Regions from separate parts of the Homo sapiens genome. Here region 2 is linked to region 1. Evidence: promoter capture Hi-C in 16 types of primary human blood cells and fetal thymus (Javierre and others, 2016). All regions are on one chromosome and are shown on one strand. The core of a region is centred on a gene start or on the middle of the fragment in contact, and the rest is flanking DNA. Distances in the headings are between cores, read along the strand shown.

The links. Contacts are between HindIII fragments. The CHiCAGO score rates a contact against its expected background, and 5 or more counts as called.
Region 2: the fragment with the promoter of C2orf69 here is called in contact with the fragment with the promoter of CCDC150 in region 1 in 1 of 17 cell types (non-activated CD4 T cells); the score reaches 6.9 in non-activated CD4 T cells.

The regions. Positions count from the first base shown.
Region 1 is chr2:196,635,457-196,642,606 of GRCh38, reverse strand. It overlaps CCDC150 (coiled-coil domain containing 150), which reads right to left and starts at 2,892. Exons shown (of 28, transcript NM_001080539.2): 1 at 2,829-2,892. The coding sequence starts at 2,840. LOC105373823 (a long non-coding RNA gene) reads left to right here and starts at 2,922. Exons shown (of 2, transcript XR_923747.3): 1 at 2,922-3,211; 2 at 4,040-4,179. RefSeq lists enhancers at 2,031-2,568, 2,569-3,106, 3,091-3,140, 3,161-3,380. The HindIII fragment of the contact is 4,677 bases long and covers 1-4,099 here.
Region 2 is chr2:199,908,441-199,915,590 of GRCh38, reverse strand. C2orf69 (chromosome 2 open reading frame 69) reads right to left here and starts at 4,298. Exons shown (of 2, transcript NM_153689.6): 1 at 3,820-4,298. The coding sequence starts at 4,152. It overlaps LOC101927687 (a long non-coding RNA gene), which reads left to right and starts at 4,445. Exons shown (of 4, transcript XR_923766.4): 1 at 4,445-4,566; 2 at 6,419-6,488. RefSeq lists an enhancer at 3,977-4,166. The HindIII fragment of the contact is 7,031 bases long and covers 843-7,150 here.

The DNA of each region.
Region 1 (7,150 bases), core at 1,643-4,142:
TAATGGCTGAGTAGCAAGAGGACAGCCTTAAAGCCACCAGGCAGAGTCCCCGAGTATCTGGGAGGCTGTTAAAGTATGAGATAAGAACTTTCAATCCAGTAAATTAATCTACCAAGTTGGGGCTTAAAGTTAGAGAGAGATTCTCATTTTCACTGCAGTTGCTCATACCCTTGCCTGTCCTCCCCATCTGGTAGGCCCAAAGCAGTGGTAGCAGAAATGCCACCCACACCCCTACATACATAAATACACGCACACTCTCCAATGGCCACTTGGCAGATCCTCATAAGTCATAGTTCTATGGCTCATAGTCTAAGAAGCACAGTCTTACATGAAAACAATCTACCTCTAATGGCTGACATTCTAGCAAAGAGACAACAGCTTTAACATATCTGTGCTTTGTTGTGTTTGAAAAGGAGCAAATATTGATTGCTGCCTTGAACCTAAGTCCTAACGCTTGATAGTAACAATAATAAAAATACTGAGATATAAACTTTTATTTTTAAAAAAGTTCATTCATAACTAATTTCTATGCATATATTATTATCAAACTAACAGAATTCTGTCTTGATGTTTAGGGAGAATATTTCCAAAGAGCTTCTAGGCAGGTAACCTTATGGAAAGCATGGCAAGAAAAAGACCAATGTCACAAGTAATATACTAGTAAAAACCAGATGACTTTGAAAAGAGAACACATGCTTCTGTGGACACAGGCTCCATTCCTACACCTGGCAATAGGTGTACACTGGCAAAAGCGTATACAAGTACATGCTGTTGGTTCCAAAATAACAGTCCAGGGAGTCAATGTTGTTTATCACAACCACTAGAAAATAATATGGTAACACTGTCTTCATTCACTCACACATCTAACAAATATTTCCTGAACATTTACCATGAGCCACACACTGTTATAGGCAATGAGGCGGGGGGCAGGGGTTGGGTAGAACAGTACGAACAAAACTCCCTGCCTTCGTGGAGCTTATATTCCAGCTGAAGAAGACAGACACTAAGTAAAATACATAGTTTGTTTATTGGTGATAAGTGCAAAGGAGGAAAATGAAATAGGAAAGAACATGGTATGGAGGCTACAGGGCAGATTTTCATTTTAAACAGGGTGGTCAAAGAAGGCCTCATAACATTTGAGCAAAGACCTGTTATATAGATATCAGAGGGCAGAAAGGCCCAGAAGACGGAAACAGCAAGTGCAAAGGCCTGAAGTTAGAAGGTCTGATGAGTCCGCACATAATAAAGAGGTGGGTTTGGCTGGAGAGGAAGGAGTAACACAGAGAACATTGAGAGATGAGGTCAGACGGTAATAATAAAACCAGAATACGGCTGGGCGCGGTGGCTCACGCCTGTAATCCCAGCACTTTGGAAGGCCGAGGCGGGCAGATCAAGAGGTCAGGAGATCGAGACCATCCTGGCTAACACGGCGAAACCCCGTCTCACTAAAAATACAAAAATAAAAATAAAAAAAAAATTAGCCGGGCGTGGTGGCGTGCTCCTGTAGTTTCAGCTACTCGGATGGCTGAGGCAGGAGAATGGTGTGAACCCAGGAGGCGGAGCTTGCAGTGAGCTGAGACTGCTGCACTCCAGCCTGGGCGACAGAGCGAGACTCCGTTTCAAAAAAACAAAAAACAGAATACACAGAGCCTTGAAGGCCATTGTAGAAGTCTGGCTTTTGCTGTCAGTGATTCTCAGAGTCACTGGAGGTCTATAGCTGAGGAATGCTATCCAACTTTCCTTTTAACTGGATCATTTTGACTCCCTCCCACTCCAAATGGTGGAAGAACAAAAGCAGAAGTAGAGATGCTGCTGGCCAGAACCAAGGTGACAGCAGCGGTATTCCTACTGTAAGAAGTGGTTAGTGGTTAGATATACTTGAAAGATAGCTTTTGCTGATGCATTAGATATGAGATATGAGGGAAAGGAAGAAGCCAAGATTACTACAGGGTTTTTGGCCTGGATGGTGCTATCACTGAGACAATGCAAACTTATTAAGGAAGAATCCGTTTTGTGGAAAAGATAAAGAGTAGTTTTTAAAATGTCAAATTTAAAACATGAAAGATACCAAATACATTATTGAATTTGTGGATCTGAAGTTTGGGGGTGAGGTGTGGACTGGAGACTAATTTCTGAAGAGCTCAAGAAAACCATAAGGCGGGATAACAGAGAACACAAAGGATTAAAGGACCTAGTCCTGAGCACGCCAAGATTAACAAATTAGAAGCATGTGTTGGGGGGCATTTAAGACGGACTAATACGAACTTCTCTAAAGTGGGGTTAAAAATAGACATTTTTCTATCTTTAGAGCCTAATACAGTGCCTGGGAAATTATAGGTGGTAAATAAACAGGAGAATACTTCGACAGGAATTTAACGAATGTCTATTCCGTTCTAGCAAGAGCGCCAGGTACTGCGGAAACCGTAAAGAACAAGTGCAAATTCCTGACACCTATATTCTGGTAAGCAAGCCAGGGAGGATTAACTGGTGGCAAAAATCAAACATTAACGCCGAAATAGCCTTCCCAGGAACCTATTAAACTCCAACTTAACACATAAATAAAGGTGGTATTGGGCTTATCTGGAGGCTTCGGTGGCTATCTCCCATCCCTCAGCTGGAGCCAGGCCAATGCAAACTTCGCTCCTAAATGGCTTTCACCGGCAGCCAACGCCAAAGCGCCTTAAATCAGGGCCCTGAGGTCCAGGGAGTGAGACTGGACTCCGTCAGGACAGGGAGAGGGCGCCAGGGAGTGGTGACTGTCCTTATCTGAGCCGAAGCCTCGCGAGCCTCCGACCACCCCTCACCAGCCCGGGGCCCGGCAGCCTCACCTTACAGTCCATCTGTCCGCCTGAGGCTCCGTACTGCAGCAGGCGAGCGGGTTTCCGTGGAACTAACACAGCATTTTAAACCAACCCGCTCCCCGGCGCAGTAGCTCCGGTACGCAGGCGCACCCGTGGCAGGGCATGTCGGGAACTGTAGTTTTCCCGGCCCAGGAGGGCCCTCAGCCCTGGGCGGGACCCAGGCCGGCATCCGGCGGCGCTCAGGGAATGCGTAGCGCCGTGAACCGAATGGCGGCAGGCTCCACTGTGCTCGCGAGCGGGGCACGCCGGGATATGTAGTTTCCGGCGCCTGCCCTCCGGGGGGTCCTGTGCTGCCCACTTCACAGTGACTTGTCTCCGCCTGGTGAACTCGCGGTGTTCTGCTAATCTTGGTAAATACATACCCTACAGCAGAGTAACGAGCATAAAAATTGGTTAAAAATTCAGAGCTTAAACATTCTTCTCGTTAAAGGAAAAATCAAGTCCCTCTTCGTCCTCGTCCATGATGGCCACATGGAGAGTAAAACACAGAAATCTGTTTTCAGGTCTTTCGTCTCTTCAGCATAAATTATTTCTTGCCCTGTCTACAAGTTAATAGGTATTTGTAAATCTGAGTGTAAGTAGCTATGAAACGGAAAAGAGCATTGAGCTGTCCCTGGTTTTTTTGGTGGTTTGCTTTTTTGAGATAGGGTCTTCCTCTGTCGCCAAGGGTGGATTACGGTGGTGCGATCTCGACTCACTGCAGCCTCGACCTCCCGAGCTCAAGCGATCCTCCCATCTCAGCCTCCCCAGTATCTGGGACCACAGGCGCGCGCCACCACGTCTGGCTAATTTTTGTATTTTTTCGTGGAGGCGGGGTCATCACCATATTGCTCAGGCTGGTCTCTTTGGGCTCGAGCCATCCGCCCACCTCGGCCTCCCAAAGTCCTGGGATTACAGGCGTGCATCACCACACCAGCGTTTCTGAGTTGTTTTGCTTTAAGAATATGTATTCTCACTTAAGGGAAAGCCTTCTATAGTGCAAAGACGCGGCTTTGCGTTTTGGTAGCTGGACAGAACACCTGTTATCCCTGCCAGGGCAATTAAAATGCATTTCTCTCTTCTCCCTGAGAGTGCAGCCAAGAATCACTTCAGCCCTCTCATATAAGCAATCAGATCCGAGATGAGAGCTCATTTACTTAGCCTGACAATTGATCTTGCTATTCTAATTCTTTTCATAGCGGAGCCTCAATGTGAGATGCAGAGACTGCCCATCAAACCACAGCCATATTCATCAAGCTTTGAGCCGATCCGGTGAAGAGAAATGAGCACTGCATACATTATTCAGAGAAAGGGACCAAATAAAGCTTTTAATAGGAAATGAAAATGTATTTTAAAGCGTCAGTGCAAACAGCCAATTATTTTCATTATGTATGTTTTATCTTGCAATGACCTCTGGTTTATCAGTGGAATTAAGAGATGAGTGATACATGTATCCACGTGTTTTTGTGTAATGAGAGTTTTCACCTTCTCCTCAAATCTCCATATTAAGCAGCAGTCAGGGAACCAAACTGATTAAATTCGTGTTTTTCATTTGTTTTCCCTTATTCACTGTCTGGCAAACCGTATAAGAACTTAAGCAATTACAGAGTTAGAGAAAAGGACCTGAAGTCTTCAATAAACTTGAAATCAGGGAGTATAGTCCTCCAACTTTGTCCTTTTTCAAATTTGTTTTGGCTGTTCCTTTAACTTTCTAGTTCCTTTACCTTTCTCCCAAATTTTTTGAATCAACTTGTTGATACCTACAAAAATTCTGCCAGGATTTTGATTGAAATAATGCCAAACATACCGATTTTCTTGCTGATTTCCCTCTTGATTTTCAGTTGATAAATAGTTCTCAGACATTACCCCATTTATCAAACAAGATCATTTCATTCACGGAAATCCTAGATATTCCATGAAGACCACATTCTGTTTCACTGCGATAACCTCCTAACTGGTTTTCCTATTACCCCTTCCAAAGTATCCTTCATATGGCTACCAGATCTTTTAAAAAAGTAAATCTGATTATCTCAGGTCTTTGCTTAAAAACATTTAATCGTTCCCCCATTGAACGAAAAGTTTTCCATTGAGCAGGATGAAGACCAAACTGGTAATAGCTTCAGCCAAACCCTCCAGCCTACTCTGCACCTAGTGCCCCAGTGGAACTCTGAAGTCAAGCCTGCTACCATAGAATGTCTTTGTGCTTGCAGGTTATGCTCACTCTGCTGCGCACGGCCTTCCTCTTGTCAGTCTCACCAGCTCAACAGAAACTTAGCCTCTTCTGTGAAGCCATTCTATTCTCTCCCAAAGCACTTCATAATTGTCAATGTATCTTATTTCCCCTTATTTGAGCTGTAAGCTACTTAAGGACAGGAATTTGTTTTTTTCTTTTCAACACCAAGTACAATGCCCGGCACACAGTAGGGGTTTGGAAAGTTTTTGTTAGGTGAGTGAATGAATAAATTTTGAAACGGCTCTACTAATAGAGGCTGTGTTTCACTCTCTACTTGTAAGCCAGGAAAAGGCCTCCAAATAGAATATACGCTGCAGATGATTTGACATTGTAGTTACACGAATGGCAGTAAAGTTCCCTGCAACTACTTCCCCTTGGAGTTGGAAATGTATTCCGTGGACAAAGAAATGCAAACAGAACACCCAAAGTTTTCATATCTTGTTGGTAAAATAAAAGAATAAAAATGGCAAATTCACTAACTGGCTCCTCACCTTATGTGGGCAATCCAGATATTTTGGTAAAGTATTGGCTCTGGGTATAGAGATTAGGATTTGAAAGAGTCTTTGGCTTTTTAATGAACTGGTGAATCAGCCCAAGGCTGAGAAGATAATTCTTTTTTTTTTTTGAGACGGAGTCTCACTCTGTCGCCCAGGCTGGAGTGCAGTGGCTTGATCTCTGCTCACTGCAAGCTCTGCCTCCTGGGTTCACACCATTCTCCTGCCTCAGCTGGGACCACAGGTGCCCGCCACCACGCCCCACTAATTTTTTTGTATTTTTAGTAGAGACGGGGTTTCATCACGTTAGCCAGGATGGTCTCGATCTCTGGACCTCGTGATCCGCCCACTTCGCGTCTCCCAAAGTGCTGGGATTACAGGCGTGAGCCACCGCGCCCGGCCACGGCTGAGAAGATAATTCTATTAATTGAAATGGCCAAGGATAACAGTGCTTCTTATACGGTCTCTGTCACTTAGCTCCACCAACTAAATTTTATAGTCAGGTAGATTTTCACCTTGTTCCATTAACCAAACTTATGAATAAGGTCAAGGCTATGATGACACTGCTGCAGCTCTATTTTACCTTTCCTAAGATTAAAGTACTCTTTTGTACTTTATCATATCACCACATGATTCTGACTGTAACCTTTGGTGTAGTAGTTATATTCTCATTTTACTTATGAAGTAACTGACACCGGGGGAAGTTAAGTAACTTGCCTAAAGGCCATACAGCCAATAAGTGACAGAATGGTTATTTGGAGTTGGCTCTATCTCGCTTCAAAGCTTATGCATTTTGGTTAGACTCCATCTCCTACCATTCTCCACCCCATCTGACAGCAGTGGGGTAAGACAGAATTTTCAGCATCTAACTATTCAATGAGAAATATATGAATTAACTTCACACAATCAAATACCATGTTTATCAAAGAAAATAAGGAAATCCAGGTGGTGGTATGTGAGTATTTACTATGCCATTCTTACAAATTTTCTGTGTGTCTAAAATTATTTTCACAATAAAAATTTTTTTATGAGGAAAATGTCTATGTACTTATATGGAAAATTCTATAGGATATATTTTAAGTTGAACAAGTGAGGTATTGTGTAATGCCAGGGGGGATAAGAATTTTATATTTGTATAAATAAGCACTGGGAATATACAAAAGAAATAAAAGTACCTTTTATTACCTGTGTAGATAGTGTGACCATATAATTTTTCATCCAAACCAAGATAATGTATCTCTCCACATATCTAAGGTCTTCTTTGGTTTCTTTAATTAGTATCTTATAGTTTTCAATATATAGATACTATATTTTTTTTAGATTTGTGTTTAAGTTTTCCACTTTTTGTTACTAGTTTTTTTTTTAAATTTCAAATCCATTGTTTGTTGCTAGTACATAGAAATATAATTGACTTTTGTATTTTGAGCTCTTATCCTATGACCTTGCTAAACTCTCTTACTAGTTTTAGGACTAGCTTTAGAATTTTTTTCGTGTGTTATTTGGGATTTTTTTACATAAACAATTCTGACATCTGCAAATAGAGTTTTTTCTTTCCCTTTCAATCTGAATGACTTTGTTTTTCT
Region 2 (7,150 bases), core at 3,049-5,548, 3.3 Mb before region 1:
AGGTTGCAGTAAGCCAAGATCACGCCACTGCACTCCAGCCTGGGCAACAGAGCAAGACTCCATCTCAAGGAAAAAAAAAAAAAGATAGGCAAAGCTTCTAATACTATCTTACAAAATTCTGTTTAGCCCTATTCTGTTCAATATTTCTTCAAATTAAGAATAAAGCTATAACAAGAATGCTCAGCGAGGTGTGGTGGCTCATGCTTGTAATCCCAACACTTTAAAAGGCTGAGGCAGGAGGATCACTTGAACACAGGAGTGGGCAACATAGTGAGACCCTGTCTCTCTAAAAAATAGTAATAAAAGAAAATAAAGAAAATAGAATGTCTATAGGCATTCTAAAAGCATCAACACAATAAAAAGATGGGCTGTACTCAGCAGCGAAAAGTTCATAAGGATAGATATTAGGCTCAAAAGAATCAAGTACAAAAATACAGATGAAGAAATCAGCCTAACAGCATTTTATATAATAGCCAACACATTTCAAGTATTTCATGCATTGTTCAAAGCAATTAAAAAATACTCATTTATACAAGTCATCTACTGCACACCTAAAACATGCAACTCTCAAGCATCGCAGATTATATCGGTGAACAAACGTAAGCTTATATTTTAGTGGCAGAAGGCAAACAAAACTCAAAACGAAAACTAGTATAGTAAATGCAATGGGTAATAATAAAGAAGAAAAGTTGATAGGAAGCCTATATATACTATGATTATTAAACAGGATGGTCAGAAAAGGCCTCAGAGAGGCAGAGTCTTGAGCAGACCTGGAAGAGGTGAGGTAATAAACCTACAAGTCATCTACTTGGAAGGCTGTTCCAGGCAGTATACAGAAAGCTTTTTAGGTATAGTGTGCCTGACATGTTTGAGCAACACCAAGAAAGCCAGAGAGGCTGGAGAAGAGTAAACAGAAAAAGGAGACCAAGTCAGATAGGTAACAGGGTGGGAAAAGATAGAAATAATGAAAAGCCTTGCAGGACAGGATATTAACAGGAAGGACTCTGGCTCTTACTCTGAGTGACATGGGAAGTGACTGCACAGTTTTGAGCAGACGTGGAATGATTTGACTTACATTTTTCAATGGTTATTCTGATTACTTTAGATACACTGAAAAGGTAAAACCACTAGATTTGATGAAATGAGGTATGAAAGACAGTTCTAATGGATGACTTCAAGATTTCTATCTTGAGCAACTAAGAAGGTAAAGTTTCCATTAATGACATGAGGAAGACTGCATAGGGGTAAAGATCCAGAGATTTTAGGTTTAGGATATCTATTAAATATCCAAAAGGAAATAATCGTGCATATAATTGGTTGGCCTAAAGTTTGGGGAATATGTGTAGGCTAGATACATAAATGTTGAGGGGTGTCAGTGTACAGGTAGTGAGTAAAGCCATGAGACTGAAGGGAGTGAACACAGACAGAGGAAACATGGAAGAACAGACGACTAGGATACTCCAATAATTTTTAAAGTCACCAGAGAGATAAGAAGGGACCAGAACTCATTTAGTATCCACACATTTAATCTCCATTGACACCTTATAAACTATTATTCTTATTTTGTAGTTGAAGTAGCTGAAACACAGAGAGATGTAACAATTGTCCAGGGACTTTATACCTAAAAAGTTCTAAATCAGGGTTCAAACCCAGGCAATCTGGCCTCAAACTGTATGTAAGACTTTTTAGACTTCCTCTGAAGACTTGTACTATATATCCTGGCTGGCACACTTTAAAAACACTTAGGAGGTGCTCAATAAATGTAATCATTATCATCATCATTATTTTAGGAATGCATGCAGTAATTGTTCCACAAAATTATTCTGGCAGTCATAGTCGGAAATGTCACATGTTATTTTCCCAATCTGAGCCACAAGGGCACCAAGTAAGTAAGTGGCTTTTTTTTCTCTTAAATCTAAGTAGTAGTTGTTTTTTTCTTTATTCTCTTTTTTTTTCTCCAGTTTTTATTAGCAGTCAACTAAACCAGTCAATTATTTTGAGGGCAAAAGAAAATAATACATATTATAAAAATATATATATATTTTATATATATTATATAGTATATTTTATATATAGTATAATATATATTTTATATAATATAATATATATTTTATATAATATATATTTTATATAATAGAATATATATTTTATATAATATATATTTTATATAATAGAATATATATTATATATAATATATGTTATTATATATAATATATATCATAATAGAATATATTATATATAATATATATTATAATAGAATATATATTATATATAATATATATTATAATAGAATATATATTATATAATAGAATATATATTCTATAGAATATATTTTATATAATATATATTATATATATTATAATATATATTATATATAATATATTATATATTATATATAATATATATAATTTTATATATAATATATATATAAAATAATATATATTATTTTCTTTTGCCCTCAAAATAACTGGTTTAGTTGACTGCTAATAAAAACTGGAAAAAAAAAGAGAATATCTATATCTATATCTATATATCTATATCTATATCTTAATCATTATCTGACTCAGAGCACAGTTTCTAAGTATGTCATTTTAAGGCACCAATTTTGAAAATAAACTAATGTAGTTTCATAGTATAAGAAACACATGTAGGCCGGGCGCGGTGGCTCACACCTATAATCCCAGCACTTTCAGAGGCCAAGGTGGGCAGATCACTTGAAGTCAGAAGTTCGAGACCAGCCTGTCCAACATGGTGGAACCCCATCTCTACTAAAAATACAAAAATTAGCTCAGTGTGGTAGCGCATGCCTGTAATCCCAGCTACTCGGGAGGCTGAGGCACGAGAATCACTTGAGCCCGGGAGGCGGAGGTTGCAGTGAGTCGAGACTGCGCCACTGCACTCCAGCCTGGGCAACTAAGCAAGACTCCGTCTCAAAAAAACAAAAAAGAGAAACATACCTAGCTATAGTCTAGCTTTACCTGTCTAGAACTTTCTATGATGATGGATTATTTTCTATGATAATGCTATATATCTGTGCTGTCCAATACAGCACACGCAAGCCATCTGTAGCTACTGAGCACTTGAAATGCAGCTAATATGAATAACTGGATTTTTAGTTTTATTTAATTTTAATTAATTCAGATAGCCATATATGGCTAATGGCTACCATATTAGATAATGCAACGTTAGATTAAGACCCAGTTTTCAGGGCAACATAACCACGGATATTTACCTGCAGCTATAAAATAATAAACATAACATGCAAAAGCAAAAGTACAAAAGAGGTGAGCATCAAAACATTGACATGCTTAATAATTATTGTCCCTTTTCTTCCACCCATCCCCACTCTTTTTTAGGGTTACTGGATGTCATACCTTTGTAATGTTTGTTTGGTTTTTAATTACTGCCACCGTTTTCTAAACACTACGTGCTAACTTAATTTGAAAGCCATCGCTCTGTCCCCTGCCCAACACACACACACGGTCCTCTGAGAAACCAAATTATAGAATAAATATACAAGATGCGTGTCACTCCCTGTCTCAAATTCCGCCTCTTGGAAACCTGGACCGACAGCTGGCTCTTTCGAGATCGTAGCCCTCGTCGGACACCTTCCCCATGGGGTTCTATGGACAAAGGGCGCCAAGGGCGTGGAAGGCACGGTTTTGGATTTCGTGGAGTAGAGGAAGAGCCACCCTCAGTGAATGTGTGGGTGTGTTCAGGCAAGGAAAGGAACCAGGCAGCAGCCACGAGGGAAGAATCAGTGACCGCGTACGTATACACGAGAGGAAGGAACAGATACCCAGGCAGGCCCCGAGTTACCTGCACATCCCCAGGGAAATAGAGGACGTGATGCTGGGGCGGCGGCTGCGGCTCCTCCTTCGCTGGGTCCCCGGGGAGGTCCTGCCGCTCCAGTCCCTCCCCGGCCGCCGCCAACAGGAGCAATTCGTTGCTGCGCTGCGGATCGGCTCCAGGCACGGTGGAAAGCTGCAGGCACTGACGGCGGCGCACCTCGGCCGAGAGGGAGCATCGCGCGCCGCCGCTGCCGCCCGGGTTCATGGTTCTGGCCTGAGAGCAGGACGAGGCGTTTCCGATTCCGAGCTGCGGCAGCAGGAGCAGCAACGGCGGCGACCGCAGGAGCCTGAACCCCCACATGGGTCGCCGCCGCGAGAGCGGTTCGGAGGTGGAGGGTGGCGGAGGGGTTCCTGAGGGAGGGACTTCAGCAGGCGGCTCAGCCGGCGGCTCAACGGTCGGCGGCCGCGGCCCGGCCGGGAGCCGGCGCTGAGGCGACGACGTCAGAGGCCGACGTCCGCGCGCAGCGTGCGTAAGGAAAGGAAGGGAGGGGTGTGGGCGAAATCGGTCTTGGGATCCCGGAGAAGACGGTGGGCGTGGCTTGAGGAAGGGCGTTTGTGATTGGTGGGTTCTGCCGCGGCCGGGAAGTTCGAACAGAAGTCTGGGGAAGAGCCGGCGAAGAGCAAAGAGATAATACAGTACTCCCAGCTATAGCAAGCGGCAGTTATGGAGCATGCGCAGCAGCAGGGGCGGCCGCAGGTCGCCGTTCAATAATACGTAATGTATAGACTTTTGAGTATACGAAGCTCCCTGTTTCTCTAGGTTCACCTGAGATTTATCTGGTCTTTCAGGGCTTAAAAGGGAGACATTCCCAAAGAAGATTCCGTGGGAAGTCTCCTACAAGCCCCGAAGGAAGGGAATCTCTCTCCTCATACCTTGAGTTTCCTGAGTACAATTATTATAGATATACGAAGATCTCTGTGCTCATGGAGAATTTGTGGTTAGATATGAAGCTAATTCATCTCTGTTTGGGAACAGGGTACATGATCTAGGACAGGAAAAAAACGGGGCGAGGCAGTACGCTTTACTTGGTGTTTTGCTATTTGGAGGTTTTCAAAAACTAAACAGTGTAGGAAAGTCATGTGTGTCCAGCAACTATCTGTGGCCAGTTGAGTAGGAATAAGATTTGGCGAAATGTATGCTCAGGCCTGTACTCCCAGCACTGTGGGAGGCCGAGGCGGAGGATCACTTGAGTCCAGCAGTTTGAAACCAGCCTGGGCAACATAGGGAGGCCTTGTCTCTACTAAATTTTTTTTTTTAATTAGCCGGGCGTGGTGGTGCATGCCTATAGTCCAAGCTACTGGGAGGGCTGAGATGGGAGATTGGATCGCTTGAGCCCAGGAGTTGTATGCTGCAATGAGTTGTGATCCCACCACTGCACTCCAGCCTGGGCAACAGAAGCAGACCCTGTCTCAAAAAATAAACCAAAAACAAACAAAACAGGGAAATGTGTGCGAGCGAGGATGAGATCCAAGTACTTGTGAGACAAAGCACTGTAAAGAGAATAATTAATGAAAATTACAAAAAACTACAGCCAACATTTGTTGAGGGTTTACTATAGGCCAGAAATCTAAGCACTTTATATATAATTGTTCGGAGTTTATATATGTGTATTTAAGCACACATACTGTTTTCTTTGGTCTACATATGCAAATAATAACAAATGGCTTGGAGTAGGAACATAAATGAGCAAATGATAAAATATGATTTATATATATGTATAGACTTGGTGACTTAGTATGCTAACCTACTCTGGTCTAAATTGTTGCATTCCATCTGACATCAAAATATTGTTATCAATCAAAAATTATTCAATTAATTACTAAGGAAATCTGCCGCTTTCTAAAATAACTGGTTAAAAACAAGTAGAGGTTAGTTATACAATAATTAGTATATAATGACATTTAGGCAACCTGACGTCACTCTGTTTTGCCAATTGCAAACATGTTACTTTCCATTGTTAGATAGAGGATTGCTGAAATGTTATCTAAAAGTCCAAACATGTACATGAATTGCAAATGCAGCTTTTGATTTGTGGTCTTGTTTTTAGCTTGACCTTATAATGAAATCTATTTTTATTTTTAAGTTTATTTTTTTAAGACAAGATCTTGCTTTGTCACCCAGGCTGGAGTGCAGTGGCACAATCTCGGCTCACTGCAATCTCTGCCCCCCAGATTCAAGCGATTCACTTGCCTCAGCCTCCCTAGTAGCTGAGATCACAGGCATGTGCCACCACGCCCGGCTAATTTTTGTATTTTTTTAATAGAGACAGGGTTTCTCCATGTTGACCATGCTGGTTGCGAACTCCTTACTTCAGGTGATCTACCCGCCTCGGCCTCCCAAAGTGCTGGGATTACAGGCAGGAGCCACCATGCCCTGCCTTAATGAAATCTATTCTTATTGAAGAGAGTGGAGAATGTGTTTTATAAGGAAAATTGTAGCAAATATTAAATGCCACAAAGTTGTCTCAGTATCGCTAAGATAATTAAGGTCTTTGAGAAATACAAGTAAGAATTTAAAGAGTAGAGTAAAGAAACAGACTAAAGTAAGCACAAATGTTTCCTTACAGTCAAGGGATTTGTACAGCCCTGTAGGAGACACCTCCAGAGAAAGTAACAGCTCTCAATTGATTAGCTGAGGTATGTATGTCATTTATGGCAAGTCATTGCCGTTGCAATTCCTTCTCACAGGTCCCCTTGATATTACTGTAATACCTGTTTTCTGTCTCCATCCCCTCTGTCTTCTAGGAGACCGATTTTGTAAATCACTACTTTTCTAACAACACTGGCACAGATGGCCAAGCATTCTCCCTTTTCTCAGAGCTGGTTTTCCATCCCGGAAAGAGGTCTTACATATACAAAGTTACTCTAATCAGTTGTGTGAGTTTTCTCTTCTCTAACTGATAGGGTTCTGCACAGGGATTATATTAATGCTTATAGTGTCCAAAAGGCTATAGCTCACCTCTGGACTCTTGAGAGTTCTCAAGGGATCCTGCTGAGCTCTCAGACCTTTTTAATGCTATTCAATATAATAGAAAAGTTGCAAAATTGGAAGGAATCTGAGAAAGGCTAATTTACAATGGAAAGGACAGCATTAAAAGGCACAAACTCCAATATCTACAGGGGCCAGGTCTATATTATAAATAGTAAAATTGGCCACAAATAAACAATAGGGAATGTAAACACTGGCAAACTAGAGAGATGTCATATTTGAAGAAGGCAGTCACTATTCACTGCTAGCCAGTTGTAAAATGAAGGCAACATTTTGCCAAACCTTCAAACTTGTTAAGAGATTTCTCGAC